2 separate regions of the Homo sapiens genome follow, and region 2 is linked to region 1. The links are contacts of gene promoters, found by promoter capture Hi-C in blood cells and fetal thymus (Javierre and others, 2016). All regions are on one chromosome and are shown on one strand. The core of a region is centred on a gene start or on the middle of the fragment in contact, and the rest is flanking DNA. Distances in the headings are between cores, read along the strand shown.

What was found. The method cuts DNA at HindIII sites, captures the fragments that hold promoters and counts their contacts. A CHiCAGO score of 5 or more calls a contact.
Region 2: the fragment with the promoter of SLC18B1 here is called in contact with the fragment with the promoter of ZBTB2 in region 1 in 1 of 17 cell types (total CD4 T cells); the score reaches 5.4 in total CD4 T cells.

Annotation. Positions count from the first base shown.
Region 1 is chr6:151,389,228-151,396,349 of GRCh38, forward strand. ZBTB2 (zinc finger and BTB domain containing 2) reads right to left here and starts at 2,332. Exons shown (of 3, transcript NM_020861.3): 1 at 2,193-2,332. LOC124901232 (translation initiation factor IF-2-like) reads left to right here. Exons shown (of 3, transcript XM_047419613.1): 2 at 727-1,245; 3 at 1,478-7,122. The coding sequence ends at 2,377. RefSeq lists silencers at 894-1,823, 1,904-2,293, 2,304-2,363 and an enhancer at 2,345-3,217. The HindIII fragment of the contact is 3,903 bases long and covers 1-3,552 here.
Region 2 is chr6:132,792,840-132,800,466 of GRCh38, forward strand. It overlaps SLC18B1 (solute carrier family 18 member B1), which reads right to left and starts at 5,798. Exons shown (of 14, transcript NM_052831.3): 1 at 5,575-5,798; 2 at 4,143-4,282. The coding sequence starts at 5,617. RefSeq lists an enhancer at 4,084-4,584 and a silencer at 5,816-5,865. The HindIII fragment of the contact is 1,643 bases long and covers 4,391-6,033 here.

The DNA.
Region 1 (7,122 bases), core at 1,082-3,581:
CTCGGGCAACATAGCGAGATCCCTGCCTCTTACTAAAAGGAAAAAAGAAAAAAGAAAAAAATGACCTTTTAACAGTTTGAAAACATCCTGGATACACAACAAGATCATTCAAAATGCAGTGGAATTTACCTTACCAATTTATAATTTTGGTTTGTGATAAATCAGTCAAATGAGAATTAAAATGGCACAGTCCCAATTCTCTATTAAACGTTCAGGGTACTCCCACACTAAAACGCTAGTGGTGTGTACAACTCGCCCTGGTGCTCCAACGGGGTTGGCATAGATGGATGATTTACATTAGCAAGGACAGGGCAGCGCGTTTAAGCAAACCCAGAGACCCCCTGGAGTTCTGATAATTCTGACCTTCTTTATGCTTTATTTTACTAAAACAATACCCTGATAAAATGAATAGAATCAAGGCTCACAAACTCAGTGGACCCATTGTATGATGAAAGAGCTAATGAACAATGCAGCTGGGGGAGGCGGGGAGCGAGAGCCGGGTTATATCCCCAAGGCATAATTAGGAGTTCACGTATTCGGGTGGAAGTTCCTGCAGTAAAAGGCGTAGCTGCAGCTTCTCCCGGCCCAGGCACTCGCCTGCTCTGCTACCCTCGCTTCTTTATTGCCTCTTTTACTACCAGCTAAAAGCGGCAAAACCCAGCTTCCTTTGCAGCTTCTGGCTAAAAAGTTCTCTCTTGCGGCTTTGTTTAAACAAGAAGGGTTTAGAGGTTTCGCTACACCGAGAAAACGACGCCGGCCCCGGGAAGCAGCCTCCCCGCCTTGGAGTCCGGTTGGGGCGTGAGGGCCGCGCGGGTCCCACGCCCCAAGGCTAAGCAGCCGAAAGCACAGCGCGCTCGGGGCCAAACCGGGCTGTATCGCAGGCGCAGATGGCGCGTCGGGCGGAAGCTGGAGGCCGCCGGCTCAACACGCTCCGTACCCGGGACTGGGGCCCGGCCTGCAGCCTCAGCGAGCAGGCGACAAGGGCGGCGCCACAGAGGCCGACGCGTCCCCCGCCCGCCTGAGCGCGCCGCAACAGCCACCTCGTCCCACCCGCCCCGGGGCGGGGCCGGGGGCGCGGCGCCGGGGCCCTCTGGCCCCCTCCGGTCTCGCCGGCCCCGCCCCCTCCCTGTCCCCGTCCCCGAGGGGCTGAGGGGGAGGGAGGGGCGACGCACTCCGGCCGCGTTGCACGCTCGCCGCTTCCCTCAGTCCCGCGTGCGCGCGCGCGCTCGCCCCAAGTCCCGCGGAGTTTAACACAATGCCGACGCCTACGCCGTGCGCAACGCCCCGGCCGGCGCAACAGCCCCGGCGCCGGGGGCGGGGGTGGCCCAGACAGGGAGAGAGGGAGAGGGATGAGCGCGCGCGAGAGCCGGAGACAGCGCGAGACCCGAGGAGGCCGGAAGCGCGCGTGCGCGCCCCCGCCCGCGAGCGGGAGGCGGAGCCGCAGCAGTAGCGGCAGCAGCTGTAGGAGCCGCTGCAGCTGGGAGAAGCGCCAGAGAGGCCGGGCCTGCTCCGGTCGGACCGGATCCCTCCCCTCCCCCTCCCTCCTCCCTCCCCTCCCCCAAACCCACTTCCGCAGCTCGCGGCCTTGCCGCCGAAGCAGCAGCGGCGGCAGCAGCAGGAGGCGGCGGCGAGGCGTCGGAAGGATTACGCACCTGACGGGCCCGCCTCTGAGGGCTCCAGCGCGGGACGCTCACCGGCCGCCGCCGCCCAGGGCGCACTTCGCGGTGGCGGCGGGAAGGGAGGGACCGGCCACGGGGAACCGAACGCGAATCGCCCCCCTCCCCTTCCTCCCTCCCACCCTCCCTCCGATCCGCCGCCCGCCCTCTCGGCTTCCGTCCCCTCCCCCTCCCACAAAACCCCGGATGGAGGCGCCGCCGACTCGCCGCCGCCTGGCTCCGGGGGATGGTTTTGTCAAGCGGCCAGAGCCCCGGCGCCAGGCGCAGCCGCCGCCGCCCCCGCGAGGCGCCCCTGCCCTCGCTTCCCAGAACCGGGTCCCCGAGTGGCCCGGGCCTTCCGCCTGCCTGCACCCGTAGCCCTGGTACGAGGGTCATTCGTCGTCTTTGTTGCCACCGCCTCTGCCGGAACCGTTTGCGAGCTCCGGTGGCCCCCGCCCCCCCACCGCCTTCCCGGACCCTGGGCTGGGGGTGGCACGTGGGCACCGGCCCCGGGAGGCGGAGGCGGTGCGCGCTTACCTGTCGCCGGTGCTGCTGCGGCGGGGGGTGTGGAGGAGGCGCCTCTGGGCAGCCTCGGCCGTGCTGTCCTCCCCGCCGCCGCCGCCTCTGCCTCTCGCTGCTGCTGCTGCTGCTGCCGCCGCGGTCGGTGTCTCCGGCGCGGCGGCGGCGGCGGCGGCGGGGCTTTTCCTGTCCGGTTACGTTAAGGTCACATGACCGAGAGAGCGGAGAGACTAGTGCAAAGAGGCTGCGAGCGGCTCCCGCCGGGGGGGAGAGGCGGCGAGAGAGCAGTGGCGGCAAGAGCCCCCTCCGCCCCCCCCCCAGCCGCTCCCCTCCCCCCGCCCGCCTCCGCCTCCTGCTGCTCTGCCGCCGCCGCCGCCGCCTGCAGCACTCCACTGCCGCTCCCACCCAGGCTCCGCGCTCTGCTCCAGCCAAACTTCTGCAGACCATGTGCAGCCGAGGCGAGGAAACTTCTCTCCACCTATTGGGGCTGGAGGCCTGAGTCACAAGCCCCTTGTTTACATAAAGTGTTTAGGTAGCACAAGTCCTTGAGATGCTCGGGGTAGAGATGGAGAGCCACTGCTCGTATCCTTCTGCCGGCTTCTGCTTGAGATCTCTTGGCCTTTACCCTTGTCCCTTGACTTTTCGTGTTTGTTTTAATCTTTAAGACTTGAAATGGAGTGGCCTTTAGAACCGGGGAGATACTGTAAACCAGCAGTATCTTTGTGTCACCAATGGTAACTGAAAGTCATGCTGAAGTACAGATTCCTGTAGCGTGCACAGAGGCAGAGGTGCTTCCTTTACCTTGCAGATGAGTTGAGCGGCGTAAGATGTTTCTGTTAGGGTTGAATTTCATGGTTATTTCAGCAACGATTTTCGTTTTTGAAGTTTTGGCCCCCCCAAAAATGAAAGTCTGCAACGCATGTTTGTTAAGAGAACAGTTTATTCTCCTGTTAGGTTTTGGTCTTTGAGGTATGGATTCCAGAGTTGGCTATTCTGTTAGATTTAGAGGTGTGGAAAATCTTTTAACGGGGAGATCCTGAAACACGGAAACATGGCAGGGAAGTTAGAATTTCCTGATGGTCATTTTTAACATTTTAAAGTTTACTTTTTGGTTGTTGCCATTTTTCTAGAATCCGTGTCTTTTTTGGGGAAATACAGTCCTTTGAGGACTAGAATTTAATGATTTCTTTACACATCTAGGATTTTTTGAGATTTAGAAAGGATATGGCTTTATTCCTAAGGAAGTGGAGGCAGCAGTTTCTAGGATACTCTGGTTTCAAGGCATGCTAACTTGGTTGTGATGTCTAACCCATTTTGGTTTACACAGTCTGACCACTAGCACAATGCCTGGCACATAGTTTACAAATCATTTAAGGCAAGCTTACCATCTTAAGACAATTTAATACATAGAAGTGTCCCTCCTAAAAATCTGAGTTTGATTTAGAAATCCAGTTATACCTGCAGGTACTGATGACTAATTCCTTCTTTGAAGACAAAATAAGCAGCTGTGTAGCTTCAGTGGCTCTCAAATGGATAATAGATTCAGTGTATACTCGCTTTGAACTTTCCTGTTTTTTGATCAGCTAGATAAATGACTTTAGTGGGTAAATGTCTGCCTCCAAAACCAAATTCTGACCCTGATCTAAGTATTCTACTGCACCGCTGTCACTGGAATATCAAAGTTGGCCTTCAGACTGGTGCCTGGTTCCTTGGATTGGCTTGAGTATTGAGGTCTGTCTCATCTTACTAGGGAACTAAAATGATGTTGATTGTTTTGTAGAGAATTGTAATTAGAGATCTGTAGGTTCTTAATTCTTTTGGAATTCCATTCTGAAAATTTTCAACCTTATGGTGTTGGTGGAGTGCTCATGTGAAGAGTGAAACTGACTTAAGAATAAAAGAAAAAGTGGGCAAAACTAATGCTAAACTTGAGACCATTGGGCAGAAATTTGCCTGTGTGTGTAGAGTAATTGGTCTTGAGTCAAAGTAACTATGCTTATTTTTAACATCACTGAATATTTTCTAGCGTTACACTCTATATAGGCTTGTAGAAATAAACCCAGGGGTAAGCCCAGAAATTGAATATCAGTCCTAAAGAAAGCCTATCAAGAGCATCCTATTCTCTTTAAGAGCTGCTATTCGAATTTAGGACTGGGCTGGTTTGCTGCTCATTCTCTCGAGGCATAGGCAGCCACACTTGAATTTTGCCAAGTATGCAGATAATTCCAACTTGTAGTCAGGATCATCAGGTAATAGCATTATAAGGGGAGCTGTACAGACTGTATACTTTCTACAGTTTGTTGAAATAGAAACATTTATATGGATACATACATCTGCAAAGGTTAGGGAGAAAACGGTAGCCCTGGCAGAGAAGAGCTAGTTAGTGTATTTCAGGATAGGGCCAAGGGAAGCTGTCATTTCTCTACTAAGTCTCATTGTGGAAAAGCCACAAATGTCCCTAGTACAGTAATAAGGAAAAAAAGGCTGAGCGTGGTGGCTCACACCTGTAGTCCCAGGACTTTCGGAAGGATTGCTTGAGCCCAGGAGTTGCAGATCGGCCAGGACAATGTAAGAAAACCCCATGTATTAGAAAAAAAGAATTAGCCAGGCGTGATGGTGTGGGTCTATAGTCTCAGCTTGGGAGGCTGAGGTGGCAGGATCGCATATAGCCCAGGAGTTCGAGGCTGCAGTGAGCCATGATCGCATCACTGCACCCTAGTCTGGGCAACAGAGTCTCTAAAAAGGAAAAAAAAAAAAAAAGTTAAATCGCTGTTTAATTATGTGCCAATTTATTTTGGTATTTTGAGAATCTGGTAAATTAGGAATTCAAAAATAGTTTTAACACTTTTTACTTCAAAGAAAATCACAGTGCAAGCAATCTGAGTGGATTCATCAAAAGTTATACATGAATATTCTGCAGAGTCTGGTGTTGCTGAAAGTTTTGATTTGTGTTCTGCTGAGACACAACCATGAAAATATGCACTTGCTTGTATTCCGAAGAGGATAGTTCCAGTGAGACTTGGACAATGAGCAGAAAAAATTTTTTTTTGAGACGAGGTGTCGCTGTGTCGCCCAGGCTGGAGTGCAGCGGCGCGATATCTGCTCACTGCAACCTCTGCCTCCTGGGTTCAAGCGATTCTCATGCCTCAGCCTCCCAAGTAGCTGGGACTACAGGTGCCCGCCACCACACCCGGCTAATTTTTTGTATTTTTTTTTTTTTAGTAGAGACGGGGTTTCGCAGTGTTAGCCAGGATGGTCTCGATCTCCTGACCTCGTGATCCACCCGCCTCGGCCTTCCAAAGTGCTGGGATTACAGGTGTGAGCCATTGTGCCCAGCTCAGAAAATTTAATAGTACTAGATCTCGTGTGTGTGTGTGTGTGTGTGTGCGCGCGCTTAGGTTGAAGGTGGAATTTAACATTGATTTAAAAAAAATAATAGTAGGAAAAAATAAATGCGGTTTGAGTCCAAAGCAGCATTTTTCACTAATTTTATGAAGGAAGTCCTTTTGAGTAATGTCTTAAATTAGGAAAATGGCGTACTTTTACATGTTAGACATTAAACTCTAGGGCAGATAACCATGCCCTGTGTGTTGTGTATCAAGCTTAGCATATACATAGGAAAAGATGTATTGTGAGAGTGTCTTACATTTCGTTGGTTTGGTCATAAAGTTTATAGAAAATGCTTGTTTTATAGTTGGTTGTTATTGAGATGAGAGTCCCTCAAGGAACTCCCTATGCTTTAGGGAGCTTTTTGTTTTAAACCTACTGGTTAGACTTGTGGGTTTTAATGTTTTCAGCTGTGGTTGTAAGAAACACATTTTAAATTGCACCTAGTATAGACATACATGTAAAACAAACAAAATTTTTACGAAGTAGTACTTGTATTAAGAGTGATGTACTCTGCTATCTTCTATTTCATTTTTTTAAAGTTGATATTGCTGCCTTAAATTGATTTTTTCAACCACTAATGAGTCAGGACCCACTATTTAAAAAATACTGGTGTGTTCTCTTGCTGTTACGAATTAACCCAAAACTTAGTGGTTTAAAGCAATAAACTTGTGTTTATCTCATGTAGGTTCTGTGGGTCAGGAATCTGGGAGTAGCTTACTTAGGTGGTTCTGGGTCAGGGTTTTTCATGAGGTTCCAAGGTGGCTCTCATTTGGCAAGTCAGCTATGGCTGATGGTGGAAGTTCTTCATTGGACTGCTTGAGTGTCCTCAAGCAGTGGCGAAGGCTAGCTACCCGCAGAGTAGGTGATTCAAGCAAGAGCAGAGAGGAGGCCACACACCATCACTTCTGCCATATTCTATTAAAAAGAAGTCACTTAAGTCCAGCCCAAACTCAGGGGATGAGTATCAAAGAATTATGGACATAGTTTAATAGCTGCCACATTTATATGTTTTTCCACTTTATATTTTATTTATTTATTTATTTAGAGATGGAGTCTTGCTCTGTCGCCCAGGCTGGAGTGCAGTGGCGTCATCTCAGCTCACTGCAGCCTCTGCCTCCCGGGTTCAAGTGATTGTCCTGCCTCAGCCTCCCTAGTAGCTGGAATTATAGGTGCCCCCTACCACGTCCGGCTAATTTTGTATTTTTAGTAGAGATGGGGTTTCACTATATTGGCCAGGCTGGTCTCGAACTCTTGAACTCAGGTGATCCACCTGCCTCAGCCTCCCAAAGTGCTGGGATTTCAGGCATGAGCCACCACCCTGGCCTGTTTTTCCATTTTAAAGATGAGTTAGGATTGCACCAAAAGCCATGCTGAAATCAACCTATAAGTAATTATCTTAGTTAATTAAGTCAGTTTTTTTCTCTGAGGGCATCTAGTCACACTTCCTTCTCAGTCTTCAATTTGAAAAAGCAGGCTCAAAGAATTTAAGTAATTAAGCAGCCCAAGGTCATTCAGTCTAGGAAAACCTCACAAATTTTCTCTGACCTTTGTCATGAAT
Region 2 (7,627 bases), core at 4,548-7,047, about 19 Mb before region 1:
CGGGCACAGTGGCTCACTCCTGTAATTCCAGCAATTTAGGAGGCCAAGGCGAGTGGATCACCTGAGGTCAGGAGTTCGAGACCAGCCTGGCCAATATGGTGAAACCCCGTCTCTACTAAAAATACAAAAAAATTAGCTGGGTGTGGTGATGCGCGCCTGTAATCCCAGCTACTTGGGAGACTGAGGCGGGAGAATTGTTTGAACTCAGGAGGCGGAGGTTGCAGTAAGCTGAGACGATGCCGCAGCACTCCAGCCTGGGCATGATGGAACGAGGCTCTGTCTCAATAAATAAATAAATAAATAAGCAATTTCTGGTCCTCTGACAAAAGATGAGTGTGGCAAGAAAAATGATGAATAGAAGTAGGAATCCCACACCATAATTTAAGAAAGGCACTGTTTTTCCTTTGCCCAGTTAGCTTAGCTAATAAGAAAAATGACAGAACATGCAGGAGGAAGGGTGAGGCTTCACCAATGCATTTGTTGACCACAAGATTTTAATCAGAAATGAAAAATCAAAGCCTTCTCTTCATATTTACAGCTTTTAAAGTTAGAATGTTCTCTCTCCTGCCTCTATCTCCTTTCTTTCAGCCTTCCCTCTGCGAGGCGAGACAAAAGTAGCAAATGTAAGAAGTCACATTTTGCTCACTTCTGCTTGCCAGCATAATGTCATAAAACCCCTGACTCTGTGACAACATGCAACTCTTGGGAGGGATGAGTTGAAGACAGAGCAGGATAGAGCACATGGTCCCCCACATCTCTTGCCTGAGCTATTACATTCCTTAAATGATAAATGCCCCAGCTTTGCCTTTTCCTACACATAAGATAACATCTAACAGGGTTGTGATTATGCGTTTATAAACTATTACCAAAGGTACATTCATAATCTATAACCAGATGTACTCTTACACCCAAACTTTGATGTGACCGTGCATGTACTGAGTCTCTACTACCTGTACATGAACTGTGAACTGAAATACTCAGCCTATAGTCCTCGGTAAGACTTCTGAATAAAATGAACTTTAATTCTTTAAAAGCTTGACTTTTTTCTTTGGTCATCATTTCCTATAAGCACAAAACTCAATCAAAAACTTAAAAAGCACACACCCACAGCATGGTTTTCCTTTGTCCCTATTCACTTAGAGGAAACTAACATTAGTTGCACTCACTGAGTTCCAGCTGAGCTAGGAAATGCCCTTCTCACTGGTTGATTCACTCACTCCAATTCTTCTCCATCTCAATTCCACAGGCTCTTATTATTTTTTTTTTAATTTTTTTTTTTTTTGAGATGGAGTCTCACTCTGTTGCCCAGGCTAGAGTGCAGTGGGGCGATCTCGGCTCACTGCAACCTCCACCTCCTGGGTTCAAGCAATTCTCCTGTCTCAGCCTCCTGAGTAGCTGGGACTACAGTCACGTGCCACCATGCCTGGCTAATTTTTGTATTTTTAGTACAGACAGGGTTTCACCATGTTGGCCAGGCTGGTCTCAAACTCCTGACCTCAGGTGATCCTCCCACCTCAGCCTCCCAAAGTGCTGGGATTACAGGCGTGAGCCACCATGCCTGGCATTATTATTGTTATTATTATTATTTAAAAATCCCAAGTCTGGCCAGACTGCTCTTTCTTGCTCAAACACCTCTGATGACTGCCCACTGACTAAGTCCTTGACAAGTGCCCTTCCTTTCTATCTTAGGCCTGCCTCCTCAGATCCACTGTCTCCTATTAGACCTCACTTCACCCCAGGCTCAAGCCACATCAAGAAGCTGTCTGTTGTTCCCCAGGAACATGCCATTCACTCTGCTCTTCCTGTGACTATACCTAGAACACCTCCATCTCTGTTGTTCACCATAAGAATTAACACTTCTTAGGGCCCACCTTAGGCCAGGTGCGGTGGCTCACACCTGTAATCCCAGCATTTGAGAGGCCTGGCCAACATGGTGGACGGATTGCTTGAGCTCAGGAGCTCAACATCAGCCTGGGCAACATGGTGAAACCCCATCTCTACTAAAAATAGAAAAAAATAGCTAGGCGTGGTGGCACATGCCTGTGCCCCAGCTCCTCAGGGGGCTGAGGCGAAAGGATCTCTTGAGCCTGGGAAGTTGAGGCAGCAGTGAACTCTGATCATGCCACTGTACTTTCAGCCTCGATGACAGAGTGAAACCCTGTCTCAAAAAAAAAGCCCCAACTTAGATTTAGCCTGAAAGTTCCTTTCAGTAACGCCCTTTCTTCTGCTATCCACACTCCATGTATGGCAGAATTAACCATTCTTCTTTCTAGGCTCTCATAACATTAGTATGGATAGAGGGAAGCCAGAAGAAAATGATTTAAAAAAAGAAAAAAAAAAACAGTCTTATAACATTCTGGACATCCTTTTCTTAAGGGATATCCAAATTATTGGAACCTTTTTTTTCCCATATTTTTTCACTCCCAAAGGGCAGACAAGAGAAAGCCATTTCCCTGATTTTTTTATACTACCCTAACACATCCCATGCTTAGCCTGCTCTAGAGAAGGGACTCATTAAACCTCTAGTTAATAGAACTGAATTGGGCAAGTCACAACTTCTGAGACCGTTTCTTCATTTGCAACATGCTGAGATTCTCAAGATTCTGTATGAGGTTGTTGCGGGGATTAAATGGATAAATAAGGGGTAATGTGTACTAGAAGCCAGAGAGCACTGTATGGGTACATGGCAATATTGTTCCTTTAGCAGAGAAGCCACTTTATCTTCTTTTGTAACACACAGAACGAAGGACTACATGTTTAAAAGGCAGTTGGAGGACTAACAAGCTTCCACTGCACTGTGAGCCAAGGATTTGGCAAAAAGCACAAAATAAAACACATGGATATGTTGTCTACACTCCAAGCCAGTCATATTCATTTCATACTATATCCTATTGACGTCTAGAATCCAGTTGGACTTTCTAGGGATTATTATCTTTGAATCTGTGTCATTAGCTATAAATCTTAACACCATATAAAAGGCTATGCCTAGAAGGAATAGGCCCTATTAATCAGAATTCCTCCCTTGCATAAACATTGGCGCTAGAGTCCATAAGAAATTAAAGTCAAAAGAGGGAATATGGAGCGGGGCCGGGGCTGGGCGTGGTGGCTCACGCCTGTTATCCCAGCACTTTGGGAGGCCAAGGTAAGCAGATCACCTGAGGTCAGGAGATCGAAGCCAGACTGCCCAACATGGCAAAAACCTGTCTCTACTAAAAATACAAAAATTCGGCCGGGCACGGTGACTCACGCCTGTAATCCCAGCACTTCGGGAGGCGGAGGCGGGCAGATCATGAGGTCAGGAGATGGAGACCATCCTGGCTAACACGGTGAAACCCCGTCTCTACTAAAACAATACAAAAAAAAAAATTAGCTGGGCGTAGTGGCGGGTACCTGTAGTCCCAGCTACTTGGGAGGCTGAGGCAGGAGAATGGCGTGAACTCAGGAGGCGGAGCTTGCAGTGAGCCGAGATCGCGCCACTGCACTCCAGCCTGGGCGAGAGTGCGAGACTCCATCTCAAAAAAAAAAAAAAAAAAAAAATTACCCGGACGTGGTGGTAGGCGCCTGTAATCCCAGCTACTCGGGAGGCTGAGGCAGGAGAATCAATTGAACCCGGGAGGCAGAGGTTGCAGTGAGCCAAGATCACAACATTGCACTCCAGCCTGGGCAACAAGAGCGAAACCCTGTCTCGAAAGGAAAAAAAAAAAAAAAAAAAAAAGGAAGGGGGGTCGGGAATCAAAACGTCCTAATTCTAAAATGTGAATAAAACCTCGAGAAAATAGTTACTGTCTTAACACAGACCTATTGCAGTAACATTTGAATCTCAGTTATTCAGTGCACTCCTTTGTTTCAGTTGCAGAAACCAAATAAAGATTAATCAGACTACATGGTAAGAAAAGTAATTCTCAGAAGATCAACTACTTTTAGGTGAATTACCTCCCAAGAAGATGTTCTTTTTGACTGGATTTTTTTTCCTGGTATCAGGCATTCTATAAGAAGTATTCTATTGGCTGGAGTTCTATACACCATCTGTCCTATATGCAGATTTTTACATTTTATATACTATAAAATAAAATAATTCAAAAGGCTTTTAAAAAACAAACAAACAAAAAAACAGAGGTCCTAAGGATTTAAAAATGTCTTACCTCTTTGGGGAAAAACGGTCCAAGTATAGAATAGCACATCATGGAACCTAAGTTCACCGAAGCTGCCGATATCAGTACAAAAACCTGTTCTCTCGAAAGCCACCCGGGGGTCTCTCCTGCACTTCCTGCAGGATCATCACCTTGAATGCAAACATGCAGCAATTAGGCATATAATTGAGACTACTGATTAAAGTACACAAATGTGATTTCTGTGCACATATGTTGCACTCTGAAGATATCATTTGCTAAGCTTAGGGCTATTTTGAATATAGCACATTTGATCAAATGGAACACAATCCTTGTACATTACTGCCGTTTTGAAAACGTACTGCTTTCGGCTGGGCACGGTGGCTCACGCCTGTAATCCCAGAACTTTGGGAGGCCGAGGCAGGCGGATCACGAGGTCAGGAGATCGAGACCATCCTGGCTAACACGGTGAAACCCCGTCTCTACTAAAAATACAAAAAATTAGCCGGGCGTGGTGGCGGGCCCCTGTATCCCAGCTACTCGGGAGGCTGAGGCAGGAGAATGGCGTGAACCCGGGAGGCGGAGCTTGCAGTGAGCCAAGATCGCACCACTGCACTCCAGCCTGGGCTACAGAGAGAGACTCCGTCTCAAAAAAGCAAAACAAAACAAACAAACAAAAACAAAAACAAAAACAAAAAACAAAGATTTCTAAGGCAGTATTGAAGTCAAATGAAGTGTAAGTAGGAGAAAACAAGCTAAATCATTCAGCTGGTGAATTAATATTTACAGCGGTATGCTTCTGGATAGACAAGTCCCACAAATTCATAAATAAATACTTTTTTTTTACCCTAATTACTGGTCTTTTACATCAGTTAATTTAACACTTATTTCCAGGGCTAAATTGTCATTTAAAAACACGAAATCAATTACTGAGTTCCAAATATCCAAGCAAATCCATCAGCCATTTATAAATTAAATTGTTTTTAGGAAAAACTTAAGAGAAATACATTTGCTTTGCTCTATTTGTCAGAGGTTGCCATTGCAGTCCAGAAGGAAAAAAAAAATCAGTGCAACATGAGGAAGTCTTACGAATCTTTGTAAAATGTTTGTAGTAGATGAGAAAGGGAAATGAAAGTTAAAAAGAAAGGCAACAACAATGGGTACTTGAAAGGTAACGTTTTACATTTGCCTAATGGCATACTTATTTGAATGCATTAAACACACAGTACTTAAAAAGCAGAGGTATAGGTTAGAAAGTCATTAGAAACCGTGACACATATCCAATCCTGGAACTTTACCCCGTCCAGAGAGAAAAGAAACGCTGGCCCGAACCCCACGATCAGGCCCCAGCCTTTTCCAATCTCTCGGAAACAGATCAAGCTATAAGCAATTCAATCGTTGCTAAAGAGACACGCCGGAAGCCGCCGCTGGTCTCCGGGCTCCCGGCCACGCAATTCATGGTCACCTCCTGGTGCGCGTGGTCCCTCCAGGTCACCCAGCGCCTCCATCCCCGGTGCGTGGACTCCGGCGCCCCAGCTCCCGGCTTCAAGCCACGTCCTTGGACTCGACCTCCAAGGAGCCACTGGCACTCTGGCGGGCGGCCGCTGCTCAGCTGGAACCTGGCATCCCCGACTCCCTGCAGGCAGCGATCCGCCCGGCCCGGAGCTCCCCAAAGCCTTCCAGGACTCTGGGTCCCCGGGAGGAGGCCGGGGGCGGGGCAGGGGTGGAGCAAGGCTCCTTTTTTTTTTGTTTTGCGCCCCCCCCCCGCCTCATTATCTTAATCCACCACCTCAGCTGCTATATCATGGTGTCCTTTTTCATTCTGTGACAGAGAGTGAAAAAAGATGAGTCTATATTCCATACAGCTGTACCCCCCTCAATCTTAAAATAAGTTCAATTTATTCCTACGAAACGAAAGAAAGGAAGCTTATGTAGACACAGAAAAGGCAGGGAGTACCTCAACTGAAAGACACAAAAGTGAATTAGAAAATTAGGTTATACAGGAACTTTGAAAGAGTGAATTATTTTTCACAGTGGGTAAATGCGGTAGTGTTCGTAATTACTGAAGCCAGACACTATTGAACCGGAAATGAATTAACCTATGTGAAGCACCTGGAGTCGAAAAATATTTGCAAGAATACTAATGAATATCGAGGAAGCATGGCGAAGTGGCTAGGAGTGCGACCTCTGGAGGCAGGTGCCAGGGATTCAAGCCAGGGCACTTGCTGGCAGTGTGTAACTTTGGATGACAAGGTCAGTTTCTCTACCTGTACAACTGAGATTATAATGTTTATCTCGTAGGGCGGCTGTGAGCATTGGCGATAAAGTGTGTTAGTAGTTAGCACATGAACATGATGGCTGCTACCTTACTCTCACACTCACAGTTTTCTTGCATAAAAAATAGGTTTCACTTATTTTCACCGTATTTACTATTTGGGAAGTGTTAAAGCTCGAGGACTGGCTGGACACGGTGGCTCATGCCTGTAATCCCAGCAGTTTGGGAGGCCGAGGTGGGCAGCTCACCTGAGGTCAGGAGTTCTAGACCAGCCCGGCCAACATGGTGAAACCCTGTCTCTACTATAAAAATACAAAAAAATCAGCCAGGCGTGGTGGCAGGCACCTGTAATCCCAGCTACTAGGGAGGCTGAGGCAGGAGAATCGTTTGAACCTGGGAGGCGGAGGTTACAGTGAGCCAAGATCCAAAAGAATTGTGTGAGGGTAGCTTTATCGACTGAGAATCTGCCTCAGATCCACTGTACAAGGTCAGTTCCAGTACACAGTATGGCTGATAGTAAGTTTGTAATTACTGTGCCACCTCATTCCAGCCTGGGTGAAAAAGCGAAACTCTGTCTCAAATAAATAAATAAAGTTTAAGGACTGGGAAATTCTTGTTTTGAAGCCAAAGCAAAACAAAAGACTGAGTTACCACTTTGTGCCAGGCATTATGAATTTAAAGAGGAATGAGCCCCATCCAGACTCTGCCCTCAAGTAGCACACCTTCTAGCAGATGAAATTCACACTAATTAATAATCTACTATAATGCAATCGGTTGTATACAAACATATTGGAAGAACCATTTACTTTGGCAAATGGGTCCTGGATGACTTCCTGAGGAAGTGATGTTACCTTGGTTCTTGAAGGTTATGTAAAAACTCCCCAGTGAGGGCCGGGCGCGGTGGCTCACGCCTGTAATCCCAGCACTTTGGGAGGCCGAGGTGGGCGGGTCACGAGGTCAGAAGTTCGAGACCTGCCTGACCAACACGGTGAAACCCCGTCTCTACAAAAATACAAAAATTAGCTGGGCATGATGGCACCCAGCTACTCAGGAGACTGAGGCAGGAGAATCGCTTGAACCTGGGACTCGGAGGTTGCAGTGAGCAGAGATCATGCCATTGCACTCCAGCCTGGGCAACCGAGCGAGACTCCATCTCAAAAAAAAAAAAAAAAAAATTCCCCAGTGGGCAAGTTGTAAAGGAGAACCTAGAGAACCACTCTGAACAGAAAGTTCCACTCTAAGC